Regions from separate parts of the Homo sapiens genome. Here all the other regions are linked to region 1. Evidence: promoter capture Hi-C in 16 types of primary human blood cells and fetal thymus (Javierre and others, 2016). All regions are on one chromosome and are shown on one strand. The core of a region is centred on a gene start or on the middle of the fragment in contact, and the rest is flanking DNA. Distances in the headings are between cores, read along the strand shown. Region 1 holds the start of TFAP2A-AS1 (TFAP2A antisense RNA 1). Region 2 overlaps LOC100506207 (a long non-coding RNA gene). Region 3 overlaps LOC100506207 (a long non-coding RNA gene). Region 4 overlaps LOC100506207 (a long non-coding RNA gene). Region 5 has its middle 240 kb from the start of HULC. Region 6 has its middle 590 kb from the start of HULC.

Region 1 (2,743 bases), core at 62-2,561:
TATTGGGTTTAAAAGAGAGAGGTGCACCCCGGGGCTGTGGCCCCCCCCCCCCGCCCCTTCCACCCCAGCCCCAAAGGGCAGAAGAAACGCCTGACTTTAGGTTTCTCTATTGCAATTCCCTTGCAAAACAAGCGAAGAGAGTTGATTCCAGAGACCGCGAACCCTCGGCGGTTCGGCCGCAGGTCCCGAGGGTAGGGGGCACACCGCGCTGCACTTTTCCTGCAGACAGTTTAAGCATCAAATGTTGAGAACATCTCGGGGACAAGTGAAGACTCAAGGAAATCAAGATGAACGTGGGGAGAAACACGCCTTGGGAAGCCGCGGCGAGGTAGGTCTGCGTGCTCGGAGAGGTCGAGCGGGGGCTGGGGTAGGGGGTAATGCACTCGATTTAGGGATGGAAAAGAGCGAGAGAAAGGCGGAAGGTGGGGTGGGGGATGCAAATGGAGAGGGTGTCCTGAAGGAAAGCTGGGCGTGAAACCCGAGGTTTCGGGCAGCTCCACGGCACCAGGTTTCCAGAATCCAATTCCTAAAGAAACAGCAACGGGGGTGGGGATGGGACTCACCATGGCTGAAAAACTGTGAACTAACATCTGCGAAGAGTCTGGGGTAACGAGTCAGGGTGGAAAAAAACAAGCAAGCCTGGAGCGCCCGGCTGCCCCGCCGCCCGAGCGCGCCCCACACAAAAGGCGCCGAGAGCCCCGCGCCACCCAGGACTCCAGTCACGGCGCCGACGCTCCCCGGAGCGCGGGAGCCCGGCTCGGATCCATCCGAACTTGAACCACCGATTCGCGCGGCGCCTTCAGCTGGTCGAACCCACGGTCTCTATCCTGCCGCGACTGGTTATGATTCAAAGTTCTTTAAAAATGAAAAACCCCAAAAAAGGAAAAAGGAAAAAGTATGTGTGAGTGTGTGGGTGCGTGCGTGTTCCTTAATCCGTGTCTCCCCCTCTTTTCTTAGCGGCGGCTTCGCTTGAGCTTCTAATAACCGCGCTGGGCAGCGTTCCTGGAGCCTCCTAATAGCAGATATTCATGACTATTAATATTACACGAATACTTAATAAGGGAAGAATGCCTGGAAATCGAGCGTGAAGCGGAGAGGCAACTCGCGCCGGAGCCGGCTCTCAATGCAGTCCATTGACGGGAGTCTCAGTGTAGCAAATCGGAGTGGGGAGAGGGAGCGCGAGAGACAAAAAGCGAGCGAGAGAGGGAGCGGGCGAGCGCGCGGGGGGCCGCGGCGCGGCGTCTGGCGAATCACAGGGAAGGGGCAACATTTTAAAAGGTTGCAGGGCATGCAAAAGTGAAAGAGAAAGAGGCAGAGAGGGAGACCGAAGGAGAGAGCGCAGAGAGGGAGAATGTGTCTGCGTGCGTGTGTGAGAAAGAAAGTGTGGGCGAGGGAGAGGAGCCCCGGGTGGGGAGAGGGGAGGGAGGGAAGGAGGGAGAGCCCGAGAGGAGGAAGGGAGGGAAAGAGGGAGGGAGGAAGGGAGGGAGGGAGGGGGAGGGGGCCCAGCCGGAGCGCACGGAGGGGGAGGCCGCGGGGGAGGGGGAAGGGGAGAGGAAGCGAGCGAGGACAATCAGACCTAAAAGGCTGGGGCAGACCTCGGGATGCAGCGGGGGTCGTGCGTAGCGGGTAGGAGCTGCTTGGGACCGCGTCCGGGCGCTCGTGGGGCTCTCGGCGCGGCAGGCGCTTCCCGGCCCTGTCTGGCCGCGGGCTCCGCCGCTTCGCAGCCGAGTCTGGGACTCGGGACTCGGCTGCCCGCTGCTGCGCGGCTCCTCCATGACCCGGCGCCCTGCCCGGGACCGGCCCGCTCGCTGCACTGGTCCTCTCCTCGGCCTCCTCTTGAGCTTTCCTCGGACAGGGGCACCGTGCGCTCCCCGGCCACCGTCGCTCTGCCCTCGGCTCTCTGGGGCCGGGGATTCCGGATCGGGAGCCGGGATGCGGGCCGGGGCGCGCACAGACGCTAGGCGGCCCAGCCCGGGCGCCGCTGGCACCGGCTCGCGGCTCCCGGCAAAAACCCGTCCGACTGGCTGGGCCACTCCCGCCTGACGCCCCCCCAGATGACACGACTAGCTCTCCCGGCGTGCTGCCTTTGCCAGTCTACCCGCCAGGTTGTCAGAACAAGCGGCACCTCGCCTCCTGCGTGTCCCTACAGAGCCCCGGCACAATCAGACTGCCCCAAGCCAGCTCCGAAACCCGAAATCCCCGCTCCGGCGCTTGCCCACCACGGCCAAAGTTGTGGAAACAGCTTTGACTTTATTCTCCTCTCTCTCTCATCTTTTTTTGCCTCGCTTACACACGCATTCACACTTGCCCCCACAGGATCCCTCTAGGGGTGCAAGTTCATCCCCCACCTAGCCACCCACCCCATCCAGTCGGCACCTAGAGCCGCACGGAGGTTCGGACCCCGCCCGCCGAGGGCGCCCACACCTGGAGCTGGGTTTCGGCCTCTGCGAAAGTGAAATGCCCAAGCCTCCGGCCAAAGCCCAGACCAGTACAGTATGAATTGTCCTATGAGACTGAGGGGTTCGGCTTCATTCCTACCTGCCCGCAAAGCTCGCCCCCAGCCTCGAAAACAAAGCGACTGGTCTGACGTGGGGTCCCTGCGCCCCTCCTCTAGCGCGACAGGACCCCCCCAGGGAAGAGCCAGTACCCGTGGGATGTCACCCCGTCCCCATCTACCGGGGTGGGGGGCCTGAAAGGAGAACGATTTAAAATAATCTTCAGAAAGAAAAGGGAGGAGGGAGCG
Region 2 (2,743 bases), core at 171-2,670, 2.0 Mb before region 1:
GTTTTAAATTTTTAAGAAATTAATAATTCTGTAGTATCAGAAACCTTTGGTGTCTTGATTCACATCTTCTGAGCATCACCTCTCATTTCTGACTTGGTTGTGGGGGGCAGTTTCATGCAATCTTACACATTCTTCTCCCTGACAGCTTCTCCTCTCCCACATTTACCAGGCCTCTTTGCTTTCTTCCCTGAGGTTCTTCGGACTTCACACATTCCAGCAGTAGCTCTCTCAGCTCCTGTCCTGCACAGCTTTGAAGTGCTGGTAAGTCAACACATCTGGGGCCCTTCAACCAAGGGGTGACAGTCACTGATGGATAAATGCTCTTGCTTCTTACACTTGAGCAAGATAGTTTTGTAGGCCATTCTGTGTGTTTTTCAAAAAGTCCCAGTGAAATTGGGTTCTGGTTTCTCACAACAGCAACTTCAATAACACATTCTTGTATTATGTCTATATTCTCCCTTCCATTCTCTCATTGTTTCTCACTAGGATCACATCCCAAATTACCTGTCCCCACATAAGTAGTTGTCTCAGGTTTTGAGGGAAACCAAGCTAAGAAATTTGATGTAAGAAGAAAGTCTAGAATGCAGCTCCTCAGAACTCTGGAAGTGGGTTACTTTGCAGTCAGATGACAACAAGGACTTTCTTAGTGATATTAAGGGGAGGACATGTGCATGGCCCAACAATTAAGGCTCTTTCTTACTAAAGCCGATATGACTACTGCCTCTTTGGATGTCCAGCCCATCAGCAGCAAAGATTGATGGTAAATTCCATAAGGAGAGCAATTACACAAAAGTCCTTCCTTCCTGGAGAGAGCCGTGGTTTGTACTTACGGAACTGACACTTCCCTTGATATGACTGGTCTTGTTCATGGTGCCTCTGCCAGTACCATTATATAACAGAGTTACAAACACATGATTGATTGACTTCCTTCCTTCCTTCCTTCCTTCCTTTCTTTCTTTCTTTTTTCTTTCTTTCTTTCTTTCTTTCTTTCTTTCTTTCTTTCTTTCTTTCTTTCCTTCTTTTTTTCTTTCTTTTTCTTTCTTCCTTCCTTCCTTTTTCTTTTTCTTTCTTTCTCTTTCTCTTCCTTCCTTCCTTTTTCTTTTTCTTTCTTTCTCTTCCTTCCTTTTTCTTTCTTTCTTTCTCTCTTTCCTTTCTCTCTCTCTTTTCCTTCTTTCTTTTCTTTTTTCTTCCTTCCTTTCTTTTTTCTTTCTTTCCCTTCCTTCCCTCCATCTCCTCCCTCCCTCCCTCCCTTCCTTCCTTCCTCTTTCTTTCTCTCTTTCCCTCCCTCCCTCCCTCCCTTCCTTCCTTCCTTTCTTCCTTCTTTGACACAGAGTCTCACTCTGTTGCCCAGGCTGGAATGCAGTGGCACAACCTCTGCCTCCCAGGTTCAAGCCATTCTCCTGCCTCAGCCTCCCCAGTAGCTGGGATTACAGGTGCCTGCCACTACACCTGGCTAATTTTTTTGTATTTTTGGTAGAGACACGGTTTCACCATGTTGGCCAGGCTGGTTGTGAACTCCTGACCTCAAGTGATCTGCCCACCTCAGCCTCCTAAAGTGGTGCAATTACAAGCGTGAGCCACCACACCCAGCCCAAACACATGATTTTCTGATGTATTGCCTCCAACTAAAGGACACACTTTATGGTAAAAGAGGTGTGACAATGACACACGACCATGGAATTCCACTGGTCCTACCATATATTGTATCAACTGGAGGAAATTGGCCTGATAGAACACTGACATTGTTTTGTGAACATCAGCAAGTATCCTTTTCAGGAACAGTGCTCAGATAGGGTTGAGATGCCGTCACTCCTGACACACACACACACACACACACACACACACACACACACACACACCTGGCCCTTGGGAAGTTTGGTGGCATTAACACCCCCAGGCAATGATCCACCAATGGGGAATGGGCACCTATGGATAAATGCCTTCCATTTCCTAGGAGCAATTTTTGGGAGGTGTTTTTATGTATTTTAGGATGTCCTAGATAATCAAGTCATGTGACTTGGGGGAGCGAGAAAGAGAAACCAGCAGTGGAGACTTAGAAGAAGCAGCTGTTGACATAGGATGGGTCCAGGAATGTACAGTCTTCTAAAAGCCAGGTGAAGACAATGTTTAAAGGAGGAAGGAGTGATCAACAATGTCAGTTCGTGTCAATTGGTGTTACTTAGTCATGTGTCTGTGAAGAATCATCTTGCATAGTTAAGTCTCAGGTTCTAGTGTCAGATTAAATTTAAATCCTTGCACCACCCCTTGCTCTTTGAGTGTCTTTGTGCAAATTGCTTAAATTCTCTAAGTCTCAATCTCCCCATCTGTGAAATGGGAATGACAGTAGTACCTATGTGGTAAATTGTAGTGATGAGTAAGTGAAAGATGTTTAAAGATGGTTAAATGGTTAGCACAACACCTATTACCTGACAAACACTTAGTAAAAGTTAGCTATTAATATTCTTATTAATATAGCCTACTATCATTAGAATAATCCATTTATATATAGTCATCAGTTGTCACTTTTCTAGCTCTTCCATAAGGAATAGGTTATATAGCATTTCCAAACTAGGAAGTTCATTGATAGATATATGGTTCCAGATGCACTGAGCAGAAAAACTAGTTAATTTGATTTTCATTAAATATCCATTTAATAAATACTTATTGAGCACTTACTCTGCATGCTACTGGGTATTGTGGATATGTGGATGACAAGACAGACATGGATCCCTGCCCTCACAAA
Region 3 (2,743 bases), core at 97-2,596, 1.7 Mb before region 1:
ATTCACTTCTGTGTAGCTTTTTTGGTAAGTTTTTAAATTTTATTGACTTATTTGACAACTAAAAACTAAATATTTGAGGTGTGCAATTTCATGATTTGATGGATATATGTATAATCACCACAATAAAGCTCATAATATATCCATTACCTCAGATAGTTTTCTTTCTTTCTTCCTTTTTCTTTTTTCGATGAGGAGGTGGTGAGAATACTTAAGATATATCCTCTTAGCAAATTTCAAGTTGTATAGCTTACTTAAATTATTTTCTTTCAACCTATAAGGCAGGAAGGGAAATAATTATTATCCCCATTTTCAAATAGAGAAACAGAGGCTGAGGTTTGCAGACATCAAGTGCCTTATCCAAGGTCATGCATCCTTATGCTAAGTGCCAAAGTCATGATGAAGACTAGCTCTTTGGAGTTCTAATACAAGACTTGTTTATGACTTCCCATTGCCCCTTTAAAAAACAAAACAACAACTAATTGATGGTGCATGATAAATGATAAATACAGTTATATCAGAAAAATGCTTATTTTTTGTGGCAGTGATGACTGGGAATTCCCTCCCTCTATGAAGGAGAGAGTGAAGCACTGGGTTTTGGGCCAATTTATCTAAAAGTGAAAGAGCCTGGTCTTGGGGAAATGATCAGTGGTGGAAGGAGGAAATGCACATGCAAGGCCCGCAGTGGATCAGTGTTCTGCGATGATTGAAGGCGCCCTTGGACTTGGATGGGCATCCTGACATTGTCTAGTCCTGACTGTTCATTTCTCAAGATTCTTGTTAGCTGCCAAGGTCTAGTAGGATGAGACCACATTAATGTCAATGAAGTCCAGTCAGTTCGAGACAGCTTTGTTTTTCTACAATTAAAACAATGAGGCAATGACTCTCAATCATGATCTCTTGGGTCTATTTCCCCTGGATACTAACTAATGGTGGTTCCAATTCTTTTAAAACAGACTATATTTTTTTTTTCTCACATGAGTTCACACACACAAATGCATGTGGTTTTGGTCCACATGCATTTCATATGACTCTGAAGTATAGCGTTATTGGTGAACATAAAAGCAATCAGACTTGATTACCGTTCAAGAGGGACTCTGAAAAGAGCATCCACGAATAATGCCCTGGACTCCTGGAAAGCTTGGTGTATCATTCCTTCTTCTTTTTTTTAAGAGCACTGGACCTTAGACAGTAGATGGCAGTGTGAGATGGGAAATTTAAGTCTTGGCAGCGATATGCTTGAAACCAGCCCAGTAAAAATGGCTTTTTGACTTGGAAGCATTTATGAAATGAACTTTCAGTCGGAGTTTTGTCTGACAGCCAGGATTCCACCCTGCGAGGTGTTGGCAACCCACAGGTGAGGCTGTGTAAGTGCTTTGTTTGAACCGAGGCTGTTGCACTGCTCGGAAGCAAGGTGGGGAGCATTTGAGCAAAATCATTGTCACAGAGCCAAGCAAACTGCCACTCAGGTCTCTTGGCACTCCTGTTCCCCCTGGCATAGTTAGAGCCACTCCTCTTTGCCTTTCTGGGAAATTCATTGTGTTTAAATCTAATAAGTAGAAGCTTTGATATATCCAAAATGTTGTTGCTGCTTCAGGTATTTACTTAATCTTTCCTTTCCTTTCTATCCTAAACCCCTTAAAAGTCTGAAGCAGTGAGTGAGGGAGTTTCCAAACTGAAAAGCAAATTAGATTATTCATGGGAGAATTGCTCAATCTGAAAGTACACTATTCCCCATGGCTTATCAAATGATGGATTCTATTTAGAATCTTTAAGAAATCATGGAAAATAGGGCAGTGTTGAAGCAGGTTTGGGTGTCTCTTCTATTAAAGACTCTTGACAGTGGCAGGATTTGGTATCTACAGTTACCTGGTAAACCTGGATCCCTCTAGAACACCTTATAACACGCAGGTGTATTTTAAGCACAGAAGAAGTAGCATAAAACATTTGTTTTACACAATATTCTATTTCATAGAGAAGAGGTTAGAGGATCCTTGCTGCGCATGCAGTCACTGAAGAATCAGAATAGGGTCCATAATGAGTGTATCCTAAAGTTAGTAATTATTCTGCTTCTTGAACCTATCTGAAAACTACATTCCCTTAATTTAGGTATAATTTCTAGACTAGCTAAATCTCAGCTTTTATGTGATATAATATACATTACTTAACCCTCCATAAGATCTTGTTTTCCCAACTGTAGAATGAGGATAATAAAAGTACTTGCTTCATAGAGCCTGTTATACCATAAATATTGCCATTATAATACAGTTTGCTATACAACAAATATTAGCCATTATTATTACATATATGTTGATGAGTGCAGGCATATTTTCAAACAAAATTACTTTCTCTCCACTTCCCGAAATAATTCAAGAGGATAGTGAACACTAGTAATACTCTAAGTCAAACAAAATTAAGTAGATAAGTCTGCTCAAAATATACTGTGTACACAATTAAGTGCAGGAAAATTTAAGACTACCTGTAAAAACACTCATTTTCATCAATATGCTTCAGAGGAGAAGAATAGAATGTTACACAAGCCTCCACACACATACTGTGTATGCGCATTCACATGCCCATATATTTTCATTCATTACTTAAAACAGTGCTTTGGTTAACCAGGTGTGGAGACACATTTTCAGGACAAGAGAAATAGAAGCATGAGAATAAAGTATTGCCAGAAGTCACATTCACCTCTTCTTTTTAACAGGCAGAATTTCTGTTTATCAAGTGAGATTGGGGTCAA
Region 4 (2,743 bases), core at 106-2,605, 1.7 Mb before region 1:
TATATTTTTAAAGAAGGGTTAACTGTATAGTCTTTAACTTGTTTCTTTTTTACTTCTCCCCGCGGCAAAAAGAAGCAAGGACAACAAAAATAAAAGTTTTTATGATCCTGCTGAATCAAGGTACTAAAACATGAGTTAAATGAAGAGGCGTGGTGGTTTTAATGAAGAAAAATAAAACAATTTAAGCGTTGCCAGGTGGAAAATGAAACAATCTCTTTATATGGAATGTGTAGAAAGGGATGAGGCACAGGGATGTTTTGGAAGGCAGTTTCCAATGTCAGGAATTTTTTGCCATGGTCTTTGATCTGCAGGCCAATTTCAGTCTTGGTCTAAAAGAAAAAATGAAGAGGAAAACTATTACTTGCTTTAATGAAAAAAGTCTCAGTGAACCAAGACTGACTATGGAAAAACAGCCAGGAGAAAGGATGCTGATTCAAATAAACAAAACTTAAAACCAAAAATCGGAATGAAACTAAAATCTCCCAAACACACATACACACACACACACACACACATATCCCCCAATTCCCAGACATCACCACCACCAATTGCTTAATATGCTGTCCATACACAACTATATTATTATTTAGTATCCTCTGGCTACAATTTCTTTTTAGTGAGTAGTACTTCTCTTTCTTTCCAGGCTTAAGACATTAGTGCTATCTGATAACTTTATTATCTACATAATTCAGCTTCTAAAATTATGTGAACAATCACATGCCTAGGAAACATGGCCCATAGTAATTGATGTTTTTCATTGTCACTCTGCTGGTAGAATGTATTCTGATTTTGTTGCATGGACTGGCTTTTACAAGTAAAAACCACATTGATATTAAAGAAAAAGTGGCAGGAATGTTGTTGCCTCTCTTTGGTGCCCTGCCACAGACAAAGCTGACTTGGGCGGCTGTGTCTATATCCCAGATATATGGAATTCTGGATAAAACAGGGCTTGTTTAAAACAAAACAAAGCAAAATATTTGGCTAAGCTCAAAAACAGGAAAAGGGAAATCTTGAGTTGCCAGAAAAAGAAATGCAGAGTCACGGAATTGAACCACAGCCTGCCTGGGGTGTTTCAGGGCTTTCAGGCTGGATATTTTTCTTAGGTGTTTGGGTTTCCGTACCAATGGGTCTAAGACACTGTGGGATGTGGAAGTGTTGTTTTATCTTTTAACCTGGATAAAACCACTACCAAATCTAATGTCTAAGGGAGTCTCCTGGAAGCCATGCACCCACCCTTAGTTATAGATAGAAACAGAAGCCCTTGTGAGAAACTAGAATTCCATGCTACTGTGAATACAGGTAAAAAAGTTCTATAAAATGGACAAGAAACTGATACCATAAAACTGACACATCACCCTAAGCTAAAACTGAAAACCAAATGCAACCAACAGGAAAATCCTCTTGAGACTGCAGATAATAGAAAAATCTGAAAAAGAACTTAAATGGTAATGTTTAGAATTTTCATAGATGAAGAAATGGATTGTATCTCTGTTACAGAAACAAAGAAAGCAGATTGGAAAGTGAAACAAATATAAATTTTAAGAGTGAATTTAAAATTAAAAACTTAAGTGAAAAATATATTAGATATATTTCTACCAATTCTGAAATTAGATATATCGCAAAGGGTGTGGGTAGGGGAAGTAGAAAGCAAACTACTATTTAGTGAAGAGTAACTTAAACCCAATGAACCAACAGTTTTTCAGTTGAGGGCTTTCTCCTTAATTTCTTATGAAGCCATTTAGGCAACAAACTTATCTAAAGTATTTATTTCCTTTACATCCTTCAAATTCTAAAAATAATGATTGATTTGCAAACTTTAACTCATAGCATTATTTTATTGTTTGTTTTATTTATTTTTATTTTTTTTGAGACGGAGTTTCTCTCTGTCACCCAGGCTGGAGTGCAATGGCGCGATCTCGGCTCGCTGCAACCTCCGCCTCCCAGGCTCAAGAGATTCTCCAGCCTCAGCCCCCTGAGTAGCTGGGATTACAGGCACCCGCCACCATGCCCGGCTAATTTTGTATTATTAGTAGAGACGGGGTGTCACCACGTTGGTCAGGGTCGTCCTTCTGTCTTGATCTTGTCTGAGAACTGAGCATGATTTCTTTCATTCTACAATGCCATAAAAACATACTCAAGAGCTTTTTGCTCATAAATTCTTCAGGCGTTGTTTGCCCGTTATTTTCTAAGAAGAGAACCGAAATAACACAAATCCTACTCTGCGTATCCTTATTCTATTGTGCCCATTTTTATAGAAAAGGTTTCTGCATTACCCACATTCAGATCTCTATTGCAATCGATGTTAAACACGTCACTCTAAAATAGCTAGACTGTAGGCAATTTCGTTTTCCCGGCTATTTTTCTGTTTGTTGTTGTTTTTTCTTAAGGCACATACCAGCGGTCTGCTTTCACTTCTCTGAATATTCATTTAGCCCAGAGGTTCACTCTAAGCAGCCGTAATGCCACTTTCTCAAGACATCAATAAATCTGATATATTTTGAGTATTTATCTCACAGGCAATAAATATCGTTACACAAACTACATTTCATGAATTAGCTCAAATTACATTTGGGCTGCTTCGGAGCTGCAGAGAAAGGTGCTAAACATTTGATACAACACAAAATTATATTTAACTTCAAGGGAGAACAAAACTTCTGATTCTCTCATTAAAAGTAAAGGTGAAAAATCTGTTTTTTTCTTTTTTTAAATCAAGTCGTTTATTTTCATTTATCTGTCATTTTTA
Region 5 (2,743 bases), core at 142-2,641, 1.5 Mb before region 1:
CAAATTAAGATGAGGTCATGCTTGAGTACGGTCGCCCTTAATCCAACATGACTGGTATCTGTAAGAAGAGAGAAATGCCAAATGAATGTGGAGACACACACAGGAATACCAGGTGACAACAGAAGCAGATATTGAAGAGATGCAGCTGCAAGCCAAGAAACACTAAGGATTGGAGGCCACCTGCAGAAACTAGAAAAAGGTAAGGGAAGATTCTACCCAGAGTCTGAGACTTGCATGGTCCCGTTGATACCTTGACGCTGGGTTTATAGATTCCAGTGCTCAGACAGAATACATTTCTGTTGTTTTAAGCCACCTAGTGGTAGTTAGTTACAGCAGCCCTAGAAAATTACTGCACCCTGCAAGTTACAGTTTATAATAGGTGCTCAATTAATTCTTGTTAAAGAATGCAAGAGTGAGTGAATGAGTGATGGATGAATGAATATAATTATCCAATGTCCCATAGGGGAGTTTATAAACACATACAACTGAATGAGCTCATGTACGAGATGGTGTTGAATTGTTTAAATTCCAGGATAATATCCCTTGCAGTGAATATCTGTTCCTGGGGTTCTTCCTCTACATTCAAGTAAAACAAGTGGATTTTAACTTTTGGCTAAGCAAAGTGTAATTATAAAATGAAATAATTAGCAGAATATCACATAATGTTCTCTATCAAATAAAAATAGAAATGAATATATACTATTTTCCATTTGAAAATATGAAAGCGGAGACACCTCATTGGTATCAGAGTGATGAATGCTTTGTCATTACTATTTTACATTCGTCTATGATGTGATTTATAAATGTTTTATTATATAAATCATTAAGGAATTCTTTAGAATCTTTATCTTCATTTTATAGGTAGTGTAACTAAGGCATTTTAATTTCTAAATTAGGAACGTTTTAATGTTGAAACTAGGTCACATTTGTCGTCTGACTTTAATCCCTGTACCAAATAGAGTTGCTTGACAAAGAAAGATACTTCAGAACCATTGTATCTTCTTCAACCACAGTTTTAATTATTGGATAAGCTTCATCAATTTTAGCACAAATAAGCTCTGGTGAAATGAGAAAAAAAGATAAACATAGAAATGGACTTGAACATATAAAGAATATAGACATGAGTTATATTTTATCTTGTTCTGTTTCATATTTTATGTATACATACATACGTACACGAAGATGAGGATGCTAAGATGGAAGAGATATGTATCTATTTGCTTTAGAAAACACGTTTCCAGAATGCATAGTTTGCAAAAATTTTCCCCCATTCTTTAGGTTGTCTGTTTACTTTGTCGGTAGTTTCCTTTGCTGTGCAGAAGCTCTTCAGTTTAATCAGATCGCCTTTGTCAATTTTTGCTTTTGTTGCAATTGCCTTGGGCAGTTTCGTCATGAAATCTTTGCCCATGCCTATGTTCTGAATAGTGTTGCCTAAGTTGTCTTCCAGGCCATTATCCTTAGCAAACTAACACAGGGACAGAAAACCAAATACTGGATGTTCTCACGTATAAGAGGGAGCTGAATGATGAGAACACATGGAAACATACAGAGGAACAACACACTGAGGCCTTTCGGAGGGTGGTGGGTGGGAGGAGGGAGAGGATCAGGAAGAATAACTAATGAGTACTGGGCTTAATACCTGGTGATAAAATAATCAGTACAACAAACCCCCATGACACAAGTTTACCTATGTAACAAACCTGCACTTGTATCCCTGAACTCATAATAAAAATTTTTTTAAAAGTTTCTGTAAAGCTTGGCCTAGGTTGAAATTTATAGCGTCTAAAATACACTGTGTCAGGGATGCTGAGCTTAGTGAGCTCCATTTGGTAATAATAACCTGCATTGATGTTCATATCTTCTTATCTCTGTTCTCTTTGAACAACAGCTGACTTATTGGTGGTAGTTAAAACCCTCCATTTTTGGAGGTATTTTGTGTCTATCTTTTCTATTATTGCAATAAGCCTAAGAAGCCTGTTTCTTACAAATAAACTCTAGAAATTTCCCAATAGGGCAATACAAACTTTATGACCTGTTCCTTTGTATGATCACCATTGAAAATAAGTTCCCCTAAAAGGTAGTGTTACTTTGGCAATAGGTACAATGGATAACAGTTTTTGGCCCTGAGATTTCCTCAGGAACAGAGCTGTTCTCGATGTTTGGTTTGAGGTTATTTTATGGGCTTTAAGGAAAGGCTATTCTTATTAATGTGCAAATAATTACAGGTCCAGTTTTACTTGGACATTTATTCTCTTTTTTTCTTTTTTGAGATGGAGTCTCACTCTGTTGCCAGGCTGGAGTGCAGTGGTGCAATCTCAGCTCACTGCAACCTCTGCCTCCCGAGTTCAAGTGATTCTCCTGCCTCAGCCTCCCAAGTAGCTGGGACTGCAGGCACATGCCATCACGCCTGGCTAATTTTTGTATTTTTAGTAGAGACGGGGTTTCACCGTGTTGGTCAGGCTGGTCTCAAACTCCTGACCTTGTGATCTGCTCTCCTCGGCCTCCCAAAGTGCTGGGATTACAGGCATGAACCACCGTGCCCTGCCTGGACATTTACTTTCTGTGAATTTTATGTGTGCCTACTAATTAATCACAGCTATTTGATTACTGATTTAAAAAATGAGTACCTGTTAAACTCATTGGCATGCTTTAAAATACTGTCTATGAAGGTGGGGAGAGCATCAGGAAAAATAGCTAATGCGTGCCGAGCTTAGTACCTAGGTAATAGCTTGCTAGGTGCAGC
Region 6 (2,743 bases), core at 139-2,638, 1.2 Mb before region 1:
CTGTCAGCTTGGTGGGGTGCTAGGGGCAGGCTCATAAGTTACTAATTACAGGACAATGTAGTCAGTGCCTGATAGATGGAAAAGTCCTATTTTTTTTTCTTTTCTTTTCTTTTTTAGACGGAGTCTCACTCTGTCGCCCAGGCTGGAGTGCAATGGCATGATCTTGGCTCACTGCAACCTCTGCCTCCCGAGTTCAAGTGATTCTCCTGCCTCGGCCTCCCAAATAGCTGGGATTACAGGCATGTGCCATCATGCCTGACTAATTTTTGTATTTTTAGTAGAGATGAGGTTTCACCATGTTGGCCAGACAGGTCTCAAACTCCTGACCTCAAGTGATCCACCTGCCTTAGCCTCCCAAAGTGTGGGGATTACAGGTGTGAGCCACTGCACCCAGCCTGAAAAGACCTATTTTTTAGAAGGAAAGAGGCGAGGGAAACTTTTATGTCCTTGGGAAAACAAGGGAAGGCTTGACATAGGAGATATTCCGTAACATTCAAGAACTTTCAGTTTTCTCATGCCAAAGCAAAAACAACTCTAACTGAAGAAGCCGGTGCATTTAATCTGTCACATTCATTGTCTCTCTGATGTGGTGTTGGGGATAAATCCTCGGGGAGGCCATTCCCTTTGTTTTCCCCCATGAATTCTCTGATGTTGGGGAACACATGTGCTTTAGGTGAAGGTGCTTCCCATGTTGATTCTATTTAAGGAATTCAATATGGTTTTGAGTGACATCTAGATAGTTCTCTTTTCTGTCCTTTTCAGAATCAGAGAAGGGTAGAAACAAAGCAAGGAGCAAGCTGTTTCAGGATAGTAATGGGATAGGGACCGAAGTGCCACAGCAAAGATGATGTGGCCCAGGGAGAATTACATTTCTATGAATTGATGAGAATGAAAGGGCGGAAGAAGAGAGGTAAAAGAGCGTTCAATTTGACTTTGGTTTGCCTTGGATACCTTAGTCCTCTTGGTCTCAGGCACTTTTTTGAATCAGATGCATCCAATGCGTCTCTTCCCATGATCCCCCCTGCACCTTTTCTTAGTGAAGACAACACCTCCAATGATCTAATCTGGCAAAAAGTGTCTCCCTGTTGGGCATTTTTGTCCCTGGGTAATTTTGATCTGAGCATAAAAATACCAGCAGGCCTGCTGTTTCCATAGACAAACCAGATGACCAACACAAAGTAAGGGGCTCAGGAGCAGGCATAACGTGGAAGAGAATAGAAAGCTTCATTTGGTTATCATAACCACTCTTTCTTTCTACTCTCAAAGCCACTGGCACGTAATCTGTCAACATATGCAGAAGTTATTTATTTCTCAAATGGACTTATATCCAGATTTGAAAAGAGTTGAGTTTTAGTATAAATAGATCAACAATTCTTGAATGTAGTTCTATTAGAGAACTCCACCAGAAGATATTATTATTTATTCAGCTTTGAGTTAAATGCAGGAAAGGTAGCAGCAAGCTGTCTACACCAGAAACCAGAAATCTTGAGTTCTCTGTGTGATCAGGAGCTTCTTGACCTCATCTATAAAATGAAAGAATGAGCTTGCTGTTTCCAAAGCTTACCTTTAGTCCTAGCATTACATAAGTAAAATATTTAGATATCAGATAACTTGGGTGGTGGCCAATTTTTATGCTGAAAATCTAGCAGAATTATTATAAATACAAGTTTTCTTAATTTAAGAAAAAGGAATCATTGGTATTATTTTGGATCTGCTAATTTAGTAACCTAATTTATGAACCTAACCAATTACTAATGATGACTTTAAGGTTTTTGTAGGATTATGATAATAATGTGAATGAAACTCTACTAGCTCATGGTCTTAAAGTTTTGTATAAACAGTTTTGGCATATCTTATCTATTTTATGATCTACAATAGACAACTTAATCCTATTATGACAAGAAGTAGTTGGCAGCTTGAAATATGCATTTAGGAACCTAAATCAGGAGCTTGGCACTAAAAATCAGGTATGTGAAGAATCAAGTGTAATATGAGGTTCTAAATATAGAAATTTGTTCACTAATAAGGTCTAAAGCTTGGAAATTAGGCCAGCGTTGTGCTTTACAAGCTAAATAGCTACAGTTAAAGCCAAAATTGGGAACTTTGGGCAAACATTTAGATGCTGCTGCTGCTTTGAAGTTTAGAAAAATGATATGAATAACTACAAACGAATGTCACATTGATTTTTATTTGAGTTAATTATCAACTTTTCAACATGTTTTTCTTTTTATATATACAGTATTTTGAGTGAGTAATAGTCTGAATAGTTACAGAACTTTTTTTTCTTAACTTGTAGGTATGGAAGTCTCAGTTTTTAATTAACTATATATATATATTATAATTTTATAAAGAAAATAATTTGCAAGTATTTGGGAGGGTAAGTAAGTGGTAATATTTCTTATTAAAATCTTATTGGTAGAGAATATAGGAAAAATTAGATGTATAGAGAGCAATCTGTTTGCTCTTGGAAGACAAATATTTATGATTTTATTATAAGATGTAAATTTTCATGACTGGAAAATATGAGAATAAAATTATTTATATCAAGATTCTTCAACCAGTAGAGTATAGGATAATCCAGCCTGTGCACCAGGCTTAGAAACCATGTAATACAGTTATATATGCAACATGAAATTTTTAATCAGAAATCTCTGGATTTAAATATCTAGAAGACATTTGCTATTTTCTAGTTATTAACTTTTAAGTATTTATTTTGTATATAGAAAATATGTGCATGCATACA

Evidence for each region. Contacts are between HindIII fragments. The CHiCAGO score rates a contact against its expected background, and 5 or more counts as called.
Region 2: a fragment that was not itself captured here is called in contact with the fragment with the promoter of TFAP2A-AS1 in region 1 in 1 of 17 cell types (M2 macrophages); the score reaches 6.0 in M2 macrophages.
Region 3: a contact is called between a fragment that was not itself captured here and the fragment with the promoter of TFAP2A-AS1 in region 1, in 2 of 17 cell types (M0 macrophages and megakaryocytes). The highest score is 9.4, in M0 macrophages.
Region 4: a fragment that was not itself captured here is called in contact with the fragment with the promoter of TFAP2A-AS1 in region 1 in 1 of 17 cell types (M2 macrophages); the score reaches 8.3 in M2 macrophages.
Region 5: a contact is called between a fragment that was not itself captured here and the fragment with the promoter of TFAP2A-AS1 in region 1, in 1 of 17 cell types (M1 macrophages). The highest score is 5.1, in M1 macrophages.
Region 6: a contact is called between a fragment that was not itself captured here and the fragment with the promoter of TFAP2A-AS1 in region 1, in 1 of 17 cell types (endothelial precursors). The highest score is 5.2, in endothelial precursors.

The regions. Positions count from the first base shown.
Region 1 is chr6:10,411,007-10,413,749 of GRCh38, forward strand. It overlaps TFAP2A-AS1 (TFAP2A antisense RNA 1), which reads left to right and starts at 1,312. Exons shown (of 3, transcript NR_033910.1): 1 at 1,312-1,361. All of the region lies in intron 1 of TFAP2A (transcription factor AP-2 alpha), which reads right to left. RefSeq lists a silencer at 1,552-1,911. The HindIII fragment of the contact is 20,769 bases long and covers 1-2,743 here.
Region 2 is chr6:8,437,771-8,440,513 of GRCh38, forward strand. It overlaps LOC100506207 (a long non-coding RNA gene), which reads left to right. Exons shown (of 5, transcript NR_038980.1): 2 at 170-261. Among named protein-coding and RNA genes, the nearest start is that of SLC35B3, 3.6 kb to the left of the region's middle. The HindIII fragment of the contact is 6,003 bases long and covers 1-2,743 here.
Region 3 is chr6:8,706,890-8,709,632 of GRCh38, forward strand. All of the region lies in intron 3 of LOC100506207 (a long non-coding RNA gene), which reads left to right. Among named protein-coding and RNA genes, the nearest start is that of HULC, 56 kb to the left of the region's middle. The HindIII fragment of the contact is 423 bases long and covers 1,136-1,558 here.
Region 4 is chr6:8,723,850-8,726,592 of GRCh38, forward strand. The region is part of intron 3 of LOC100506207 (a long non-coding RNA gene); the gene reads left to right. Among named protein-coding and RNA genes, the nearest start is that of HULC, 73 kb to the left of the region's middle. The HindIII fragment of the contact is 3,097 bases long and covers 1-2,743 here.
Region 5 is chr6:8,888,328-8,891,070 of GRCh38, forward strand. No RefSeq gene overlaps it. Among named protein-coding and RNA genes, the nearest start is that of HULC, 240 kb to the left of the region's middle. The HindIII fragment of the contact is 724 bases long and covers 1,030-1,753 here.
Region 6 is chr6:9,244,961-9,247,703 of GRCh38, forward strand. No RefSeq gene overlaps it. Among named protein-coding and RNA genes, the nearest start is that of HULC, 590 kb to the left of the region's middle. The HindIII fragment of the contact is 337 bases long and covers 1,221-1,557 here.